5 separate regions of the Homo sapiens genome follow, and regions 2, 3, 4 and 5 are each linked to region 1. The links are contacts of gene promoters, found by promoter capture Hi-C in blood cells and fetal thymus (Javierre and others, 2016). All regions are on one chromosome and are shown on one strand. Each heading gives the region's core, a stretch centred on a gene start or on the middle of the fragment in contact. The rest is flanking DNA. Distances are from core to core; before and after follow the strand shown.

Region 1 (2,646 bases), core at 39-2,538:
ACTTTAGGAGTTTTACATATCCTCTCCATTTCATTTAGTTCTCTTAGCACAGAGAAGTGGGAGAAGATAGTCCCATTTTACAGGTGGGATGAAGAGAGAGATGGAGGAATTTGCCCCAGGTTACTCAGCTAGAAGGTGGTGAAGAACTCAAGCCTTCGGATATCAGCGCCTGGCATTTAACTACCAATCGGTCCTGCTGGGACTCCGGCTCCTCTGGCACCATCCCCGGGACCTACTCAGAGAGTTTGCACGTGGCCGGTCGCGTTCCATCGTCTAACAAGGTCCAGCACAGCGCAAATCCGAAGATCGTCTACCCCGGGGAAAAAGAGAGTCTGTTTAATTCTCCTGTGGCCCTCCAAGTGAGTTCTTTTGGGTTCCATTGCCTAGACGAGGAAAGTGAGGCTTTGCCTGCTCTGCGCTCACAGGGTCGGCAAGTAGTGGGACCCTAGGTTCCTGCAGTATTCCAGAGATAATCAAAGCTGCACAGGTCTCGTCATTTTTATGCAAAGGCGTCCGGAAGGCTCGAACTCTCCCTTGCACAAGCCCATCTGTCTCTGTGCGCCGCCCCCGGGACACGGAAGCAGGCGGCGAGCAGCGCCGAGTGGGTGGAGAACCGTCCCCCGCCACTCACCCCTCGGCCAACTCTCCGCGCCTTCTCAGCCGGCACCCACGAGGCCGACCTCTCTCGGCCTAAAAAAAAAAAAAAAAAATCCCGGCCTCCCCTGCACCCCGCCCGCCGCCCCCAGGGAGCTGCATTAATATTAATCTCGCTGAATAATTGAAGGCCAGAGATTTATTCGAGCTTCGGCGGGGGAGGGAGCGCAGCTGGGCCGCGTTTAGGCTGCACCACCCGCGTGTTTCAGCCGCTCGACTCCGCTGGACCTGGGACCCCCAGACGTGGGAGGATGGGGTGGGTGTGCCTGCCTGTGAGTTTGGGGGTGAGTGTGAGCTGAAGCGGGTGCTCCGGGGAGTGAGGAGGGAGCGCCAGGGGCTGCTCCAGGGAGGCGGAGACGGAGGGGCATCCCGGGTCTCCGCGCGGTCGCCTGCGCTTCACCCCGCACGGGGTGACCTGGGGCCACGCGGGCTTCAGGGGAAACAATAGCTACTCCTTAGATCCTGGGCTCCTGCCACCGGCTGCCCAAGCCTTCCCGGACGAGCGGCGGGGCCTCTTTTCTTATTTGGCTAATTTATGGCGAGAGGCTGGGGGGAGGGATGGCAGAGGAGGGACCGCGACTGGAGATGGGGGCGGGGGGCGGCGGTTAAAGGAGTTGCCCGAGGCGGCGGCGCGGGTGATGTCAGCTCTCGACGAAAATAGAGAGGGATCGCCTGCAAATCCCCAGCTCCGGCGGGGCTAAACCTTGCAATCCCTCCCTGGCCGGCGCCGAGCCAGAGCGCAGCGGCCTCCACCGCCTCCCCAGGCGCGCACACACCCGCACACGCGCACGCACGCTCACCGTCCTCTGCCACCACTCTCTGCTCCCGCCACTCGCCGCGCCCGCGAGCCCCGCAGCAAAGCACAGGTGGCAGCGGCTGCAGGGGCGCATCGCCGGCGTGCGCCCTCCTGCAGCCCTGGGCGCATCGCTCTCTCGGGGAAGCCACCCTCGGAGCCCCCGGAGCTCCCCGCCAAGCGCCATCCCCGCGGGCGGAGGGGAGCGCGGGTCGCGCGCCGTGGAGAGCCGGGACGCGGATTAGCGCCCGCAGGAGCCTCCTGCGCCCGTTGAGGCGCTAAAGGGCTTACCCCGGAGGCGGGTGGAAGGGCGGGCAGAGGCTCCTCTTAAATACCGCTCCCGGCCGCACTTCGCGCTCACCCCGGCGTCCGCTTTCTCCCTCGCCCACAGCTGCCGGATAGTGCTGAAGAGGAGGGGGCGTTCCCCAGACCATGGCATCTACGGAAGGGTGAGGGGATTTTTATCTGTACCCGCGGGAAAGCGGGGTCACGCGCGGGGTGGTGGCGCCCCTATCCGGGATGCGGATAGAGAGGCGGCGGCGGCGGGCCTCGGAGGTGGTGGCGGAGCCGTAGCTTGGCTGGGGATGGGATGGTGGGGAGGGGATTGATTTTCTTTCCTGGAGATTGCTGCTTAATCCTTTGAAAATGCGAGAGGTGGAGGGTTGTTTTATTTTGATAAAAAGGGTAAGGTGCGCTGGGGGCCTGAGAGTGTGAGGAAGAAATCCTCTTGAGGTTACTTTTGGGATTTCAAAACAATAGGGGATTGGGCATAGTGTGAGCAGACACCGGGGTAGCAGCGCCTGGAGCGCGGCGCCCCAGGCCCGAGGCGGGCTTGCAGGTGGTGCCGGCTCGGAAGGAATGAGCCAAGACAGGGCCCTGGGGCGGGGCAAGGACCAGCGCGCGCGGCCTTGAACGCCAGGTTTGCAGAGTCGCCATGGAGATGCTGGGCCCGCTCCGATCGGTCCTTGTCCCTGGAAGGCGGAATCTCCCTGGCTAGCTCTAAGGAAGGGTGGAAGAGATTTGGGTGCTTCCCGGGAGGCGGGAAAACGTGTGGTTTGGGACAAGGGCAGGAGTCGCCAGACTCCAGCGGGCAGGGATAGCATTGGCTTCCCTATTCAGCCCGAGGATCTGGAGTCGTGTCCTGCCTCCCAAGATTCCAGCTGGCATGGGGAAAGCTCCCTCGCAGTGATAACTAAAGA
Region 2 (2,646 bases), core at 84-2,583, 580 kb after region 1:
CTCTGTCTTGTTTTCTATCACCCACAGTTGTTTTGTCCTTTGTTATTTTCAAAATGAGGGAATAAATGCATTATTTATTATAGCAGCTTGGGAGAAACGTTTTTGAAATGATGCCCATAATGATAATGGGAGAGTGGGGGCAGACTGATAAAAACAACTCCTTTTATCATTTGGGTACATCTACTCTAAATTGGTGGTCACCACATTATCTATATGGCATGCCCCTACCAGCATAACATTTTGGGTCACACACACACAATTTTTGAAGTGTGTGTGTATGTGAGTGCATGCATATGCATGCGCACACGTGTGGAATTCACATGTATTGCTGTAGAAATAGATTCTTGTGGTGGACACTGTGGTGCTCTGCCTAGACCCTCTCTTTAGAGTTAATGCCACCACCTCCCAGCAACTGGAAATATTTGTTGCCAAAGCCTCACAGCTACATTCCTGATTGGAAACTGCCCTTGGCTATAACAAACAGCTCACCCAAGGCCATGTACTCCCAGAGGGTGGCTTGTAGCCAGTGACTGACTGATGGGGATATAAAGACCCCACTCCATTGCCTCAATGCAAGACCACTCTCAAGGGCTATCACAGCCCCGGAGCTCCCGGTAGGGTTTGTTGAGACCTCTGTTGCATGTGCATTTTAGGTCAGCTTTCTCCTATGCCCAGTACTGCCCTCCTCACTTCCATATAGTGGCAAGTTGATACAGTCCCAAGTGTACCAACTGGGACTACTCCCCAACAAACCTGCCTGCAACTCTATGTTTCAGAGTCTGCTTCTATGGACCCAATTTGGAGATTATAAAACATACTCCTAGATAAAAATTCAAACAAGGATGACATTAAAATAAATATAACAAGATCTAATATTTTCTATTTATCTCCCAGTAGTTGTCTTGTACACCCTTAGGTTGTGCCTATCTGCTTTGGGATGATTCCCAAAGATAACTTTGAACATAGGTCACATTAATCCCAGCCCTGAGATGGGAGGTAGAGGTCAAAGAGGAGGACCACACAAAAGAGGAAGAAGAAAAAAGAGCCCTTTCATCCTTCCCACCTAGACAAGTTTAGATTTTCCCAGCATGGGTATCCACAGCCCCACTTCCTTTCCCTTTGAAACATTCATCACTCATTTGATGACTGTCTTTCCAAAAGATCAAAGATCGATGAGGTCAAGACTTACATCCGTCTTGTACATGACTGCAATTAATATCCAACAGTTCCTGGCATAAAATAAGTGCCTCAATAAATATTTGCTGACAGAGGGGTGAGGAAGTTTATCCAGATGTGTTCACCCCTCACTCTCTGCTCCCAGTGGTACACACAGGCTGACCCTTTCCCCACAATTTCAGTTCGGCAGGTCTTAGAGGCTGCCCTGAATCTGGTGGGCCCTCCAAAGAGGCATAGAAGGAGGATTCATTGATTGTTTCAATTGTTTGTTGAGAACCTACTGTGCATCAAGCAACCTGCTCTGCCCTGGGGATCCAGTGCTGATCACAGACACAGACACTCGATCATAGACACAGATACAGGATCAGCAAGAAGTCCCCGATCTTGTGCAGCTTTGAGTGTGGGGGTAGATACTCATCACACAGAGCACAGAAATACAATGGGGGACAAACTAAAATGAGTACCCTAAAGGAAAGAAGGGGTATGCCCTGAAAATGGCATAGTCTGGTGTGCATTTGGGTGGTGATGGTGGTGGTGTTGGGGTGAGGATGGCAGGAGAGTGCCCTCTGAGCCAGCTTCCCCAGGAGAGAAAGTGATCCTTGAGTTTCAGCTGATGATTTGCTTAGCTGGAGCAGGGTTTCTCAATCTCAGCCCTAATTAATGCTTTGGGCTGGATCATTCTTTGAAGGCAGGGGAGGCTGTCATGTGCCTTGTAGAATCTTGAGCAGCAGCCTTGACCTCCACCCACTAGATGCCAGTAGCACCACCCACTAGCCCCAGTTGTGACAGTCAAAATGCCTGCAGACATTGCCAGATGTCCCCTGCAGGGCAGCATCACCCCCAGTGGAGACTCACTGAACTGGGAGAAGAGGCTGGAGAATGGAGAAAGGTGGGAAGGGGAGAGGTATACAAGGAGAAAAGAGAAGCATTGCAAAGGTCATGGGGTCAGCTGAGCTACTGGAGGCTGGAGAGGGCCAGGGTAGGGGCTGGCAGTGCACTCTGAGAGGCAGACAGGGCCAGACCCTGCAGGCTGAGAAAGAAGGAAATGAGTTGTCTGCTCCTTGGTAAAGAAAACAGAAACATTCAGAGAGAGGGTGAGAGCCTACAGGACTATGACAGGATCTCATAACTGTAATCATTGGAATCCAAAAATTAAGAAATAAGCCTCCATAAATCCAGAGCCCTGAGACAATATTAATGGAACTTGGTTAGCACATGTAGCCCATCCAGCCCGCTCCCAGGGCTGACAGGGGATGATAGATGAAACTGAGTGGGGTGCGAGGACATGCCAAAGGTGCTGTTGAATAAATCAGCTGACACTCCCCTGAATTTGCATTGTTAATGGCAGCACCTAAACCCCAGTGTTTCTGCAGAGACTTGTCCCGCTGCTGCCTTCCATCTGAAACGTCCCAAGTGAGTTGGCTAAGGGCAGCAGGGTGTTGAGTGATTAAGTTTGAAACACATTTTATT
Region 3 (2,646 bases), core at 96-2,595, 560 kb after region 1:
ATGCAAGAGGGTGCAGTCACCAACATTTTAAAACATATAAATAAGAAGTAGAAGTGCACCATCCCTCTCTTCTTAACTGCAATGTTTCCTTTCCCAGAGGCGACCAATGTACCAATTTCCTACACTTCTTCCAGAAGTCTTTAATGCACTTTCAAGCCTATATGTATATATTTCCTTAAATGCACACTCACATACAAATGGTAACAAACCTAACCCATCATTCTGTGCTCTACTTTTTTAAATCAGGTGTTGAAGATTCTGCCACATTGATACATATCAGACAGACTTGCTCTTTAAAGACACCAAAGTGACTGGGCACGATGGCTTACATAGGTAATCCCAGCACTTTGGGAGGCTGAGGCAGGAGGATTGCTTGAAGCCAGGGGTTCGAGACCAGCTGGAGTGACAAAGTGAGACCCCACCTCTTTCTCTTTAAAAAAAGACAGCAAAGAATTTTATGATATGGATGCACGTAAGAGACCTAATCAATTATTTAATTTTATTAGTTTAGGTTTGTTCCTCAATGTTTTGCTATTACAAATAATGTTATAACATACATATCATTGTAAGTATATCATACCCATGTGTGAATCTACCTGCAGAATAAATTCCCAGGAGTATAACTGTCAGGTTGAAAAATATGTACATGTGTGATTTTGGTAGATACTGCTCAATTACAAACCTCATAGAGGTTGTGCCAGGTCACCATCCTACCAGCAATACGAGTGGCTGTTTCCCCAAACTCTGGCCAGGCCAGGGTGTTACCAAATTTTCAGTCTTTGCTGAACCAACAGTGACAATGATATCTTATTCTTGTTTTCATTTGCATTTCTCTTACTGTAAGTAGGCAAAGCACCTTTACTAATGTTTAAATGCCTTTTTTAAAAAAAAAAATTCTGTTTCGGTGCTTGTCTCTTGATTTGTTGGTCTTTTTCTTTAATCTTGTAATGATTTGTATTCACACTTAGTACATTAAGAAAAACGGACTGTGCTGTGCAGTACAAATATTTTATTCTAGTTTGTTGGTTGACTTGTGACTTTGTGGCATTTTCTTCCATTCATATTAAAATCGTTTTTCTGCATAGTTAAAGTGATCAATATTTTCTTTCATTGAAGGGGTAGAAGTGGAGGGGAGGCAACCAACATTTAACAGACCCAAATCAAAACTGACCAAAAGCCAAACTCCTTACAATGATCAACAAGATTAGATTTTCCTTGGTTTCCTTTCATGTCCCATCTCTATCAATCCCCTCTAAGCAAAGTAAGTTCCAGCCATATACACTATCTGCATTTCTCAAAACAAATATTGGTACATATTTGTTTTATCTATATAGACTATACCATAGGCTTTTCTTTCTACTTGGAATGCCTTTCCTTAATCCTGTACTCCAAATGTATCTGTTGGACAAATTTCTATGCATACAAAGCAATTGAAATATCACTTCCTTAGTGGAGACTTCCCTGCCTATTTCATCTGAACTGTGCCTAATTAGTTATGAAACATTTTCTGAACCCCACTAGTACTGATCATATGGTTTAGTTCATAACCTACAAACCAGCAGTATGGGCTCTGGGGCCAGGCTGGTTGGGTTCAAATTTCGCCTCTGCTACTTATTTGTTGTGTAAAGGACCCTAAGCAAATTACTCAACTTCTCTGTGTCTCAATTGTCCTCATCTGCAAAATGGGGATAATGGTAATGCCTCATAGGACTGCCTCGAGAAATAAATTCATAAGAGTGTTAAACAGCATCTGCATTGAGAATAGTGCTGACACACAGAAACTGCTTATTAAATAAATAAAAACTTGTTGAGCCCAGAAGCAGTCTGAGCAACAGATAGTCAACAGCCAGGAGGCAATTGTGCAGCAACTTATCTTCTTTCCTGCCTACCTTCTTTTCGAGATTGTGAATGTCTTGAAAGAACAGGCCAAGTATTTTGCTTTACTCAACTTCATATTCTAAGCACCCAACACATGGTAGTTTCATTGAATGAATGAATAAATAAATAAATGATTTTCCATCCAAGTATCTCACTTTAGTTGAAATATAGCATAAATACATATAATAGATTCAAGAAAGGCCTCAAAATAAAAATATACGAATGTAAGTTGTCCATAACACAAGTAAATGTGAAGTCTCTCTACATTTGGTTGCTAAAGAAATAGTCAAGGAGCCCAGTGGATTAGAATAAAGAAAAGGGAATTTCCTTTAAAAGTTTAAAGCAGAGAAAGAACATGAACTGTATAGACAATTACAGAGAGTATCCCAGGGAAGGGAAATGACCCTTACCCAGAGCACTTGAGGGTCCCTAAGTCCTAGGCAGCTCCTCCCATATCTTATGAAACATATTCAGATGTACACACATCCAATATAATTTGGGGGCAAAAAAATGTAGTTTTTTTCTAATTTGGTTTTCAAATTATTTTTGTATTAGTAATTCCTTTGATTCAAAATTGGTTATGATTTCTTAGCAATCATTGGGTACCTGTAAGACGATTCAAGTGAGAAAAACTAATCCACAAATGCTTGCACCTATAATGAGATGTTTATGAATACTTAATTTAATAATTGATGAAATTAGCCTATGTCATAATTTGCAGCTATGTCACTACACATTTAAAAATTTTGGTATCACATTGTTCAATGG
Region 4 (2,646 bases), core at 102-2,601, 540 kb after region 1:
TTCACATATTGTTCAGGCATTTTTCCTATTTATTTAAGAAATGAATCATCTATAGTTCCAATATGAAATAAAAAAAACTCTACAATAAGCCAAATCTAAAATAATACATGTCTATTATCACTCATAATCCTTGTTAATGCTTTCACACCCTAGGACTGAGGTTTTCCTTCTAGTTTTTCTTCCCTTCAATTCCTTCTGTCCATTTATTCTTAATTTGAGAGATTTTATTTGTTGCCTTATAACCTTCTTCTTTGCCTTTTTCTTCTCTTCCTTTTTATTCTTTAAACATACATCTTTTGTTTTTTTCTTTTAATCTTCTGTCTTAAGCTTAGACTTTCTCACCTGACACCCATTTTCTCAGCATATGTTAGTGAAACGGGAGAGTTCCCTGATCCCTCACAGGACTTATGACAGAGGTGTCGCTCATGTGCTCAGCCACTACAGGCTCGAACTCCTTTCGGGAGGGCGAGCACACGGATGGGCGGGGGCAAGAGCTGGGGCGGGGCGAGTGCTTTTGGGCTCCAGCCCCAGTAGCGTTTAGGGGTGTGTTACAATTAATGCTCTTTTAGTAGTTGCCATTTGTGGACGGCTAAGTGTTAAACCAGCTCAGTAGAGAGTCAGGGTGACAGCCTTTTACACCCTGCCCTCTTGGTACCTGGATCCTTGTCCGGTGTATTAGTCTGTTTTCACACTGCTGATAAGACATACCGGAGACCAGGCAATTTACAAAAGAAAGAGGCTTATTGGACTCATAGTTCCACGTAGCTGGGCAGGCTTCACAATCATGGCAGAAGGTGAAAAGCGTATCTCACATGGCAGCAGGCAAGAGGAGAGAACTTGTGCAGGCAAACTCCCATTTTTAAAGCCATCTGATGTTGTGAGACTTACTATCATGAGAACAGCAGAGGAAAGACCCGCCCCCATGATTCAATTATCTCCCACCAGGTCCCTCCCACAACACGGAATTATGGGAGCTACAAGATGAGATTTGAGTGGGGACACAGAGCCAAACCATATCATCCAGCGTCCAGGAAGATTCAGGTCACTCAGACTTGAAGGATGGTGAGTGCAGGGATTTTATTGGGTGATAGAAGTAGCTCTCAGTGGGATGGATGGGGAGCTGGAAAGAGGATGGAATGGGAAGGTGATATTCCCCCAGAGTTTGGCTGCCCCACAGCCGATCTCCTCTCTGACTGTCCCCAGCTGAACTCCTGTTGATGTTCAGACGCTCCTTCTCTTCTCTTCTTCTATGCCATGCCACTCTGCTGCTCTGTCGTTCTGCTACTCTTCTGTTCCTCTGCTCGTGGAGCTTGGGGTTTATGTGGGCACAGAATAGGGGCATGGCAGGCCAGAGTGGTCTTAGAAAAGGCAACATTTGGGCGTGAAAACAGGGATGCCTGTTCCCATTTAGGTCCATGGGTTTCCAGGCTTGAGGGTGGGGCCTTTGCCAGGGAACTGCCCTCTTCTACCTAGTATTTCCTCGCCTCCTGCCCATATCATTAGCATTTTTAATAATTTTACATTGACCTTGAGCAGAATCACTTAACTTTCATTTTCTGATTGGCATTTTCTAAGGGTCTTGTAACTCCAAATTTCAGCAAATCTTCTTTCGTACTCAGTACTTGTTCAGTGCTCAAGTGTTGGTACGTAGGTAGAGGTAAGCTGCTGTTGGTGTCTACCCAGTTTCCCTCACTCATAGGAGCCACCTCCACTCACCCACATCCCTTGAGGCTCTGGGATGATGTCAGTCACAGTATTCTGCCTGCCCTCTTGCTGCAGCCATAACCACGTGACCCGGACCTGGCCAGTCGTGGCCAGTCATAGCACACCATTTCCCTGCCTACAGAGGGGTTCAAAGTCTTAGGTTCCTAACTCAAGGAGAGGTGCCAGGACCCAACTCCACTGCCAGATAAAGAAAGCCTGTCTGTGTTTGAAGAGAATGAAACCAACACACAAAGAAAAGTATAAAAAGCAGAGCCAAGATATAGAAATATTTCTACTACAGCATTTTAGTACTTGGATTTAGCAGTACCTTTGGATTCACCTTCAGCCTTTTGAGTCAGAAGAGATGAACAGATTTGCTTTTTTAAAAGTTATTTTGAGATGATTTATTTCATAATAGAGTCTTACACAATGTCTAATAGTATATCAAACCAAATGCTATGCAATTGCATGAAATAAAAGGCTAACTCGCATTAATCTTGATGAGACTCAAGTCTTTTATGTATATTACTTCATACAAAATTGGTAAATAAAGGAATGATATTGGTACATTGGTATAATATGGAAATTGCATGGATTCATACACAATTTTTCTCAGCACATTGTTTTAAAGCAATTAGGGCAAGATTTCTTATAATTAATGAGAAAGCTTTAAAGATATATGAAAACATTTTGGAAAAAAAGCTGAAAATCTGCAGAAGTTTATTCTTTATTGGGAAAAAAAGCCTCATTTAGTAGCTTTAGGGACCTTCAGTAATTTTCATTCAGTTAAGCTATCTGGAACAGGCATGGATAAAGACACTAAGAAGATATTTCTAGTTATATAAAACAATGGATTAGGAAGCCTACAGACTGGATACGATTTTAAAATTTGATGAAAATTGAATTTTTTAAAAGCAAATGCCTTCTAATACTTACATCTTA
Region 5 (2,646 bases), core at 81-2,580, 530 kb after region 1:
AATACTCAGTTTTTGAGTACCAGAGTTAAATAACATGCTACCAAGTATGTTCATATACCTGAGATTCTAGAGGATCCTCTCTAGGTAGATAGGATTTGTTTCAAAGGTTCAGGTACTTTGGTTTTTGAAACAGAGTCTTGCTCTGTCACCCAGGCTGGAGTGCAGTGGGGCGATCATGGCTCACTGCAGCCTTGACTTCCCAGGCTTAAACAATCCTCCTACCTCATCCTCCTGGGCAGCTGGGACTACAGGCATGTGCGACCACGCCTGGCTAATTTTTTCTGGGGTTTTTTTTTTTTTTTTTTTTGTAGAGACTGGGTCTCACTAAGTTGCATGGGCTGGTCTCAAACTCCTAGGCTCAAGCAACCCACCTGCCTTGACCTCCCAGATACATATTTCAAAGTCACTTAAATACAGATGACTAATCATTAAAAATCCTAATAATTATTTTTTATTGAATCAAAAGAACGGCAGTATGCTTTCTAAGCACCTGTATCATTAATGAATATAGTGCCTGCTAATCTGTATTCCTCAGAGGACAAAACAAGATGTACTGGACTTAAATTGAAGCAGAAAGGATAAATAGTATTCAATTGCTCATTGTATTTATTTAGTGTCATTTATTCAAGAAGATGAAGAAATAAAGTAAGTATTAGTAACTGTGAGTAAGAAGTAACTTGCTATCAATGAAATTAAGATTATAGAATCTCATTCAAGGATTTCCAATACAGGATTAATCTTTTTTTCCTCCTGAAATGTGTTAGGAATATTATTGTCTGGAGGTTGTGTGTTAAATTGAGTGATGTTGATTTATTACTTCATTCTAATTCACTTTCTTTAACAAAATTGGATTATTAAAATATTTATGTGCTGTTGAATATATATAGTCATGCCCCCAAGGAGGCTGCATTGCATATTAAGGAATGGAATGTAAAATATAATCAGAACATTGGGAACAAAAGGGATTCAATGGTACACCACAAGATGATGCCATTATAATTTTATCTGCTTTAAATTACTGAGTTAACTCATGAAATTTTCATTGAACATTGGGAAATGACAAGAGGTTCCTCTGTTAACAACTGGCACAGTTAGGGATAAAAGTATGCTCTCAGTCTAGTAAGATTATGTTCCATATGGTAGATCAATAAATCCATCTGTGCCTCCTCTCTTACCATCAGCCTAGTTGCTAATGTGTAAATACAGCATTGCTCAAGCTTTCACATTATTTTGCCAAAACTTTCAAGATGGCCTATTCACAGCAAATCCTACGATAACAACATTTATTCTTGTTTCATGTATCCATTTAGAAGTTGAGTCCCAGTAATATAGTTTCCCAACTGTATTATTTATAATAAATCATATTCTAAATGCTGTCTTTAGTTAACTGCTTTTTATTTGCATGTTCAGAAATAGTTTGTGTATGTATAAAATAAAGCTTTCTACCAAATGAGCTAAAATAACCATTTCCAACTGGCTCTTTAAAAAAACTAGCAAAGTTAAAAATAGGTGAATGCAGGACTCAAGATGAAATATTTTTGATCAAAAAGACATAAAGGACTATGTTCTTTCTAGTAGAATTTTACTAATCCATGCACTACCATTTTATGTGACCACCATAAACCACTCATTGGCGCATCTTTTAAAATTAAATGGGCTTTTATAGCACTAAAATCAGCTCATAGGAAATTTTCATCATATATGTGAAATGCTTTATCCTTAGTTCTTAATGGGTGTGGAGGTCATGGAAGGAAAGAGCCACAGTCACATGGCACTGTATTTGGAATCTTATTAAATTTGTGCTTTACATAGTAAAATGAATATTTTGTAGTAAAATGTTGGTTTTTTTCCCTAATATTTAAATGACTTAATAAGTCACTAGCATTATCAGCAATACTATTCTCATGTTGTTAGTGAAAGTTTGGCTCTTTGATGCTTAGGGCAAATAAATTTGGAATAAAATGCAAACGCAATAAATTATGTTTCCAGAATAATACAGACAATAAGCTCTTTGGGAACATAAAATGATTTACTAATTCCAAGATTTGACTGGACCATTCCAGCTTATGCTACAAGTATGTGGTACCAAAAATTAAGTCAGAAGAAGGAAATAAATGACCAAGAAAATAATAGTAATCAAGGCAATTCCAGGATACTCAATAGCTACTGTGTTTAGGTTGGGTCGCTATCATTCAAATTTATAATTTCCTGTTTTCACAGAGTAATATTGACAGGTGTCAGAGAGACTGATCCTGTTGCATGTGATTAGGACTACAATTAATAAAGTCACATTGTAGACAAAATAATTGAGGCACTATAAGATTTAAATTATTTTTTAACTGACCAGAAAGCAAATAAAAATAGAAGCAACTGAACATAGATGTATTTTGACCTCTTGGGGTTTGGCCCTTGCTTACCACAGTGAAAATGCAGGAGTACAGAGAAGTATATTCCAAAATTTAGTAACTTGAAATTCAAAATGCTTTCTGTTTGTGGCTTAAAGCACCAAGTAGATATTTCACTTTAATATTTGGCATGTTTCTATTCTAAAAAGCTCTGTCATTTTTATATTTTTATCCAGATATCTCTTTCTTTGTAGGTGTAAATATATTTTTCTAAAACATTTGGCTAATCTTTTAATTACCC

What was found. The method cuts DNA at HindIII sites, captures the fragments that hold promoters and counts their contacts. A CHiCAGO score of 5 or more calls a contact.
Region 2: a fragment that was not itself captured here is called in contact with the fragment with the promoter of SLC1A2 in region 1 in 1 of 17 cell types (activated CD4 T cells); the score reaches 6.7 in activated CD4 T cells.
Region 3: a fragment that was not itself captured here is called in contact with the fragment with the promoter of SLC1A2 in region 1 in 1 of 17 cell types (activated CD4 T cells); the score reaches 8.1 in activated CD4 T cells.
Region 4: a fragment that was not itself captured here is called in contact with the fragment with the promoter of SLC1A2 in region 1 in 6 of 17 cell types (non-activated CD4 T cells, activated CD4 T cells, naive CD4 T cells and 3 more); the score reaches 6.5 in non-activated CD4 T cells.
Region 5: a contact is called between a fragment that was not itself captured here and the fragment with the promoter of SLC1A2 in region 1, in 12 of 17 cell types (naive CD4 T cells, activated CD4 T cells, non-activated CD4 T cells and 9 more). The highest score is 10.7, in naive CD4 T cells.

Annotation. Positions count from the first base shown.
Region 1 is chr11:35,418,200-35,420,845 of GRCh38, reverse strand. It overlaps SLC1A2 (solute carrier family 1 member 2), which reads left to right and starts at 1,288. Exons shown (of 11, transcript NM_004171.4): 1 at 1,288-1,896. The coding sequence starts at 1,880. SLC1A2-AS2 (SLC1A2 antisense RNA 2) reads right to left here and starts at 1,789. Exons shown (of 2, transcript NR_186310.1): 1 at 1,739-1,789; 2 at 1-310. RefSeq lists an enhancer at 1,142-1,642. The HindIII fragment of the contact is 13,046 bases long and covers 1-2,646 here.
Region 2 is chr11:34,836,972-34,839,617 of GRCh38, reverse strand. The region is part of intron 6 of LOC102723568 (a long non-coding RNA gene); the gene reads right to left. Among named protein-coding and RNA genes, the nearest start is that of APIP, 78 kb to the left of the region's middle. The HindIII fragment of the contact is 6,181 bases long and covers 1-2,646 here.
Region 3 is chr11:34,856,678-34,859,323 of GRCh38, reverse strand. All of the region lies in intron 6 of LOC102723568 (a long non-coding RNA gene), which reads right to left. All of the region lies in intron 1 of LOC105376624 (a long non-coding RNA gene), which reads left to right. Among named protein-coding and RNA genes, the nearest start is that of APIP, 58 kb to the left of the region's middle. The HindIII fragment of the contact is 3,549 bases long and covers 1-2,646 here.
Region 4 is chr11:34,873,583-34,876,228 of GRCh38, reverse strand. All of the region lies in intron 6 of LOC102723568 (a long non-coding RNA gene), which reads right to left. It overlaps LOC105376624 (a long non-coding RNA gene), which reads left to right and starts at 951. Exons shown (of 2, transcript XR_931185.2): 1 at 951-1,062. The HindIII fragment of the contact is 2,044 bases long and covers 330-2,373 here.
Region 5 is chr11:34,892,129-34,894,774 of GRCh38, reverse strand. All of the region lies in intron 2 of APIP (APAF1 interacting protein), which reads left to right. Among named protein-coding and RNA genes, the nearest start is that of APIP, 23 kb to the left of the region's middle. The HindIII fragment of the contact is 221 bases long and covers 1,220-1,440 here.